Regions from separate parts of the Homo sapiens genome. Here region 2 is linked to region 1. Evidence: promoter capture Hi-C in 16 types of primary human blood cells and fetal thymus (Javierre and others, 2016). All regions are on one chromosome and are shown on one strand. Each heading gives the region's core, a stretch centred on a gene start or on the middle of the fragment in contact. The rest is flanking DNA. Distances are from core to core; before and after follow the strand shown.

The links. The method cuts DNA at HindIII sites, captures the fragments that hold promoters and counts their contacts. A CHiCAGO score of 5 or more calls a contact.
Region 2: a contact is called between a fragment that was not itself captured here and the fragment with the promoter of BRF2 in region 1, in 1 of 17 cell types (total B cells). The highest score is 5.5, in total B cells.

Annotation. Positions count from the first base shown.
Region 1 is chr8:37,847,741-37,851,911 of GRCh38, forward strand. It overlaps BRF2 (BRF2 general transcription factor IIIB subunit), which reads right to left and starts at 2,121. Exons shown (of 4, transcript NM_018310.4): 1 at 1,890-2,121; 2 at 856-915. The coding sequence starts at 2,043. RefSeq lists enhancers at 1,797-1,936, 1,977-2,326. The HindIII fragment of the contact is 8,285 bases long and covers 1-4,171 here.
Region 2 is chr8:37,390,243-37,394,232 of GRCh38, forward strand. No RefSeq gene overlaps it. Among named protein-coding and RNA genes, the nearest start is that of LINC01605, 210 kb to the right of the region's middle. RefSeq lists an enhancer at 1,834-3,422. The HindIII fragment of the contact is 7,434 bases long and covers 1-3,990 here.

The sequences.
Region 1 (4,171 bases), core at 871-3,370:
GCTGGTCTTGAACTCCTGACCTCAAGCGATCTGCCCGTCTCGGCCTCCCAAAGTCTGGGATTACAGGTGTGAGCCACCATCCCCATTTTAAATTCCTAATTACCATTCTCTTCTACTCTACCTCACACCAGCAATGCTGAAAATAGGAAAAGTGAAAAGCTGGGCTAGGCCACCAGGATAGTTTTCTTTTATTATTATTATTATTATTATTATTATTATTATTTTTTGAGACAGAGTCTCGCTCTGTCACCCAGGCCGGAGTGCTGTGGTGCGATCTCGGCTCACTGCAAGCTCCGCCTCCCGGGTTCACGCCATTCTCCTGCCTCAGCCTCCCGAGTAGCTGGGACTACAGGCACCCACCATCACGCCCGGCTAATTTTTTTGTATTTTTAGTAGAGATGGGGTTTCATCGTGTTAACCAGGATGGTCTCAATCTCCTGACCTCGTGATCCGCCCGCCTCGGCCTCCCAAAGTGCTGGGATTACAGGCATGAGCCACCGCGCCCGGCTCATTATTATTTTTTTGAGATGGAGTCTCACTCTGTCACCCAGGCTGGAGTGCAGTGGCGCGATCTCAGCTCACTGCAACCTCCACCTCCCAGGTTCAAGCGATTCTCCTGCCTCAGCCTGCCAAGTAGCTGGGACTACAGGTACATGCCACCATGCCCAGCTAATTTTTGTATTTTTAGTAGAGACGGGGTTTCGCTATGTTTGCCAGGCTGGTCTTGAACTCCTGACCTCAGGTGATCCACCTGCCTAGGCCTCCCAAAGTGCTGGGATTACAGGCGTGAGCCACAGCACCTGGCCTAGGATAGTTTTCTTTAAAGCCACTGTGTTGTAAAAGGTCAATTCTCACCTCGTTGCTGGCTGCGACTAACTTGTTCGTTTTCCCCTGTGCTTCGGGAATATGTTACCTCTGTAAGATAATAAACAACAAATAGTGTGCTTAGCCTTTATTCATCAGACCCCTGCCCTCCCACCACACAAAACCAGGACGCAAAATTCAAATCATTGAGCATCTGCTGCTGCACAGTTAAAGGCCCCATCTGGTTTTCTATGTCTACAAGAGGTTCCGAATACACAGAGACTGGGAAAGGTTAGGACTGCATTAAAGCAGCTCCAAGTGTTCCAAATTTCCAGTCATCCTTCCAGTACATTCCATACAGGCAATTTTCCTAGCAGCAGATTTTGTTGTTGTTTGTTTAAGGAGTTTCCCTCTATAGTCCAGGCTGGAGCACAGTGGTGCGATCACAGCTCACGGCAGCCTTCAACTTCCAGGCTCAAGCAATCCTCCTACCTCAGATTCCTGGGTAGCTGGGATTACAGGTGTATGCCACCATACCTGGCTAATTAAAAAAAAATTTTTTTAGGCACTTGTCTCGTTACGTTACCAAGGCTGGTCTCGAGATCCTGGGCTCAAGCAATCCTCTCGGCTCTGCCTCCCAAAGCACTGGGATTACAGGCGTAAGCCACCCCACCCAGACAATGGCTGCAGATTTTGAGGGCTGCACTGGTCAGAAACTTGGAAAGCAAAGAAAAGTGATGTTTTGCCAGTTTGTGCTTAAAACTATTTCAGGGTAATAATACCTGCTATAATCGTATCGGCAATCCTTCCACAATGACCAGACATGGCAAGATGAGTGGAACTTTTGTTTCTGTCTCACTTATTCAATATTTATTACACGCACCATCTATGCCCGATACTAAGTGCTGGGAAAACACAGATGAATGGCAGCCCCCATCTCCTTCAGCTCCCTCGCTCACTTTAGGTCATTTTCTCTCAAATTAAGTGTGTGCGTTACAGTTAGGAGTATGGGGGGAGCGGGGAGGCAAAAGGAATCTGATGTTAATCCCTCCACCGCCCCAGGCTGTCCCCAGGGCCACAAGTACCTCGGAGATTGCCCTCGTCGCTGAAGGTAGTGGTAAGGACCCCCTCGGTGACCACGCAGCCGCAGTCGGAGCACACCAGCTGGCTCTGCGAATAGTGCGAGTCTTCCACCAGCTCCGTGGAGCCGCAGTCCGGGCAGCGGCCTCTGCCTGGCATCTCACAACCGGCCCCAAAGCCGCGGAAGCCTTCAGAGACTCCTGGGTCTGCAACAGCAACCGTGAGGCAGCAAGAAGTAGGAGGGGACACTTCAAAGGGTTGCACCCCCGTCTTCCGGCCAGCGCGACGGAGGCATAGGCGGTTCCCTCCGCTGGGAGGCTGCGCGCCACTTCCGGTCTGTGCCTCCGCGGGCTCGGGTAGAAACGTGAGCTAGGAGAGGAGGTTCCTGGGCTGAACTGTAGCTGTCTGGTTTCCCTGCACTCTGTAGTTAGTTTTTGGGACCTAGACTGGGGTTGAATTTGGGAAAGTTTTTGCCTACATGGACACGTATAACAGACAGAAGATTGTTGTCACCCCTGAACAACCCTCCTTTTAAAGTCCTAAGGGAATCGCAGGTTGGTAATGAATGTTTAATTGGCCATAGAAGAAAGTATATTTTTTAAAGGGAGAGTAGTGGAGAGAGAGCGGGAGCAGGAAACTGTGTTCTGCTTTCCAGAGCTGCTTCCTAAAGCAGATTCCTTCCTCTCTTTACCTCCTGTTTTTCTCAACTGTAAAATGAGGAAGTTGAAAAAAAAATCCAGAGATGCAAACCCAAACGCTTTTGGAGGCCAGGCAGGAATGTCTAAAGGAGTTTGGAGTGAAAGAATATGGAGTGATGGAGACCTGGAGCGGCGCAAGCACGCAGATTCAGATGTTTTTTAAAAAACCTTGAGCTATCTGGGCGTGGTGGCTCACGCCTGTAATCCCAGCACTTTGGAAGGCCGAGGCAGGTGGATCACCTGAGCTCGGGAGTTTGAGACCAGCCTGGGCAACATGGTGAAATCCCGTCTCTACTAAAAATACACAAAAATTAGCTGGGCGTGGTGGTGCACGTCTCTAATCCCAGCTACTCAGGAGGCTGAGGCAGGAGAATCGCTTGAACCCAGGAGGCGCAGGAGGCGCAGTGAGCCAAGATCGCGCCACTGCACTCCAGCCTGGGTGGCAGAGCGAGACTCCATCTCAAACAAAATAAAACATACCTTTAAGAAGTGTCACTCCCTTCTTTTCCACACCCAGTTTTTACACGTGATATCCAAACCTAAAGACACCATCCCTTCCCTAAGAGACTGCTTTCTCAGAGTGTGAGAATCACTACTCCTTTTCAGAGACATCCCGTCCATTCCCATGGGGATCGCTCACATTGGAGGGCCAAGAGACACAATAATACCCAACGGTCCTTTCTCTTCAATTTGAATTACTTTAGTATCATAACAGAAGGGGGCTTCAGCACATTAATCGTGGGTGGGATCCGGCAGTCCAAGCCCCCCCGCCTTTTCTAGACCTCCCCACTAGCGTGAGATACAGGATGAGAGCTTATTTCTGGCTGTCTGACAGTTAAATATTAAGATACATTTGCACATGCGCACCCGCACACACACACCACTCAGAGACATCCATTAGTTTTAGTGTGGTTGACATTCTTATTTGGATGAAGAAAGTGTCCCTGAAAGCGACATAACTTGCACTGGGAACAGTTCCTTGCATGATCACACAGCAGAGCATCAGACTCCCCTCATCCCCAGTTGTGTGCAGATCTTGAACCTACCTTCACTTTTTTTTTAAGCGGGACTTTACAGAGCCCATCTACCTAGGACAGAAGCCTTGAAATCCTGCCTGACCCAACCTGATTGATTGTAAAGTGGAAAAGCAGTTTTATGATCCTGCAGCCAGCCACGGAAGGAGAAAGCTGGTTGTCTTTCCCAGTCACACATGATGTACTTACTGGGAGCCTAGGAGAGCCTGGTCCTCGGGCACACACAGGCTGGGAGGGGGCAGGGTCCAGGCCAGAAGATGGCGCCCTCTACTAAGATGTGTAAGTTTGGGGTTCTCCACTTTCTCAGGAAGAAGTCCATTTATTTGGGAAATGTATTTGCCTTGCTCCAGGAAATCTGGACAGACGTGGAAATCATCTTGGTGCCCTCTCCACTGCTCCCAGTTCTTCTAAGAGTTATCATTCCTGGTAGTGATTATCTTATTTTTTAATTTTATTTATTTATTTATTTTGAGAGGAGTCTCACTCTGTCGCCCAGGCTGAAGTGCAGTGGCACAGTCTCAGCTCACTGCAGCCTCCACTTCCCGGGTTCAAGCA
Region 2 (3,990 bases), core at 680-3,179, 460 kb before region 1:
GAGAGTTCAAGTATAATTGTTTTATATGAGAGGTCATGTTCACCTTGTGTCGGGCACTTGGGCTAACAGTTACCAATTAAAAGAGACAATACCATAAATTGTGCTAGCTTTTAAACCCCTGCTATGCCTCCCACTCCCCACCCCCTTTGATCTTAAAAACTTATCTAGACCTCTGAGAATGTGGACTCCTTTGAATTTCTTCTTTTGCCACACAGCACACACTGTGTTGGGTGTTTTTTCTGATTCTGCCAAGTGCTTCCCTAATAAGGTTCATCTGCAGACAGCCACCTGGGTCCACCCCAAAGGTGATGGGGTTTTGTTTTTGTTTTTGTTTTGCATTTCCTATCTTGAGAATAGGAAAAAAAAAAAAAAAAGCAACATAGCTGCAGTGTGCCTCTGGGCCAGAAGGGGGAGGCTGAAGGAAGTGGATTCCTGTAGGTCTGCAAAAAAAGTACATTATGGCGGGAGAAGGAGATGGTGAGGCGAGAGGGGTGGTTAGAAATGCAAAGGGGAGAAGAAAGAGGTGGTGAAATCAAAATAATTTTAATAAAATAATAATTGCAGCTATCATTTTAGTGTGCTCAGTGCTTTACATATGTAGCTGCATTTAATCCTCACAACAACTCCAGGAGGTAGGTACTAATATCCCCATTTTTCAGATGAGGAAATCAAAATGACAAAAAGGAAACCCTTCAAACTTCCAATTTGTACACTAATTTTCAGGCAGTTGGATTGCTGGGCTATAACCAAGGCAGTTCATAAGTAAATACTGGCGGCTTGAGTTTTTTTTTGTTGTTGTTTTTTTATTTTTAATGTTCACTATTCCAGGCCCCAGGTCAGTAACCGAATATGTGGGAAGCCTTAAAAATACCAATGAGAGCATTTGAAATAGCACAGCTGAAAACCACTACTTTTCACACTGGGCTCCATTCAGAGTTCAAGGTTGGACATTTCTCTCCCACACAAATTCAACAGAACAAGAAACCACAAGAATTGAGTGTTTTCCAAGTCTGAACTGGGGAATATGAACTTCAGAAAAAGGCATGAAGATAAATTTATTTGAAAGCACTTCTCTGAATACGTTTGCACCTCAGTTTCCTGGCTTCAAGGCCCTTGGATAGCCCTAGATATTTAACATAGACCAAATCACTGATGACATTCAGTAAATATTCAACAATATGCAGATTGTGGTCAATTTCCTGGTGGGGGTCTAACACTTGTTAGAATTTTCCAGATGGGCTGGGTGCGATGGCTCATGCCTGTAATCCCAGCACTTTGGGAGGCCGAGGCAGACAGATCATCTGAGGTCGGGAGTTCGAGACCAGCCTGACAAACATGAAGAAACCCCGTCTCTCCTAAAAATACAAAATTAGCCGGGCATGGTGGTGCATGCCTGTAATTCCAGCTACTCAGAAAGGCTGAAGCAGGAGAATTGCTTGAACCAGGGAGGCAGAGGTTGTGGCGAGCCAAGATTGCACCATTGCACTCCAGCCTGGGCAAAAAGAGTGAAACTTCGTCTCAAAAAAAAAAAGAAAAGAATTTTCCAGATGAATCACTTCTGTTTTATCCAGATTCCATACCATCACCAACTCCATATCTGCCCTCCCAATGAACTCCATGGATATTAGCTGATAGGTTAAACTTTCTTAGAATGTCCCAAACTGTAGTCATTTTTCAGTCTGATATATCTCTACTACCCGATTGCATGTACCCCTCCATCCAAGGTGTGTCCGACAAAGATTCTCATATGGTAAGGATGTATTCAGTGTTGCTGAAAGAAATAAATAAATGAACTTCAGCAAACTGTCTATCTCTGTATTTAGATTTGCTTTCAGCATGAGGATTTGGGATTTTTTTGGAGAGGGGGGATAGGAGTTTTTATCCTTTTTTCCCATTATATTTCAAATGAATTTGTCAAGAGGCTTAGAGTTTTATTTTTCCAACATGAATCACTGATGATCTAACAAATTAATTACCCATCCATCCTGCCTTAGTGGGTGAGGTCATGGGAGAACGGATGGGTTCAGCTGACCTCCCCTGGACTGTAGTGTCGTGGCCCCCATTTAAGAACTTGAGTTCAATGCCAAAATTGCCAGTTTAGGTTAGATTCAGACCTAAATGTATCTTATTATACACAGAGGCACACAAATGCAATATGTCATCTTTAATGGTTCAGAACAAAGCCTAAAAAAAATAGTGTCCTAGCACAGATGAATTTTATAACCTTTGATATATGGGTTTCATTATTAACAATAATTTCTGTAACTGCATCCAAATTCGGGAAGACACCCAATGAATATTAATTTTATTTTTGATTTATTTTCTCCTCCTGGTTGTTCCCTCTAGGGCAGACCTGCCTTCCCAGCGTCCCTTTGGCCCTGTGATCTTACATCCTCCAGAGTGAAATTCTCATAGTTCTGGGGACAGCCTGATTCCAGGAATATTGCACTTGAGGTTTTGCTATTCTGCTGGAAAATAAGGATTTTTTCCCCATTGCATTTTCTTACCTCTTTATATTTTACAAAGATTTCCCCCACACACCCTTTGTCATTATATTTAAACCTAATTGCAAGACAACTCTCCTCACCTAAGTCATCAACAAAGCCCAATTATTTCTAATGCATGCAGAAGGGGGAAAAAGTGCCAAACAATAAAAAGGCATGCAGTAACCTAAGCCTTTTTCACAGTCAGGCTTCAAGTTCACATGTGAATTTATGCCAGTTTTGACATTAGCCGAAAAAATTAACAGTTCTCAAAAATGAAACTCTCACAAAAGGGGTTTTGTGTTTCAAGCAGAATAAATTATAGTGTGATGTTATTAAAACACTTAGTTGTTAAGTTGCCAAGAAAATCCAGTATATTCACACAGACTCGAGGACCTGTCTCCATGCAAAGTAATTAAATTAGATTTATGGGCTGCATTACATCAGTGTTTGATAGTTCATTTTTCCTTTCTTCATATTTTGCCCTGCTTTGTTAGAGCATGTGACAGATGGTAAAAATAGTGTGAAGTTTCTTGGCCCTGTGCTAAATCCCCTTTCGGTAGTATATCTCTCTTCTGTCAGTTCTCCCCAGCGATGATAAATTAACCTCTCTCTTTGTATCCCAAGTGTGGCAGTAAAGCTCTCTTTGACACAGCACTATCACTTTATCTTAATCTGTGCTGTTTCGAGGGGAGAGGGAGATGATGCAATCGCTACCCTGAGTTTAAAGAGAAGATTTATTGTGTCAGAAAAAGAGAGGATGATTAATATAATATGCATCATTATATTTTTCATTTTGTCTCATTTGTCGTCTTCTTCTCTTGGAAGGCAAGGAGTTCGCCAGGGTGGGCCAACCTCTGGACCGCCTTTCACCTGGAGCCGGCTGAACCCGGGGGCTGGTAGGTTGGGGGAGGTCGGTTCCTTCTCTCTACCCCACCCCGCCCACCCCGCCCCTGGGCCACCATGGGAGGGGTGGGGTTTTTCTTTCTGGTGACTGAAGCCAGCTTCCCACCCTTCCCAAAGCGAGGCAGCCACACATGGGGTCAGCTTGGCATGGGACTCCCCTTTGGATGGAAGATATTCGAAAGGTCTCAGGGCACGATTTGAGGTGGGTCAGTCAAAATATGCCCTAAATCTAAATAGAACTTGGGGTCATCCAGCCCGCAAGAGACACTGTTGGCAGGACCAGAAGTAGTGCCATATATAATGTTTCTGCAGGAAGGGACATATTACTATGATTATTTCCCTCATTTATAATAAAGCTATATTCTCCTTAAGCTGCTCCTTGGCTATGAATTTCTTATATCTGGGAACTGACTTTATTCATTCTGCTCAATAAGCATTCATTAGTATCAATACGTAGCAGGCATCGGATGGATATAAAGGTGTCTAGAGGACCTATTCCTGCCCTCAGGAAGCTCACATTTCAACCAGCAGGCAGCCATTGGCCAACTGCGATGAGCATCTCTCCCTCCTGGGTCCTCCCAGCATGGAGGGTGCCGGGCCT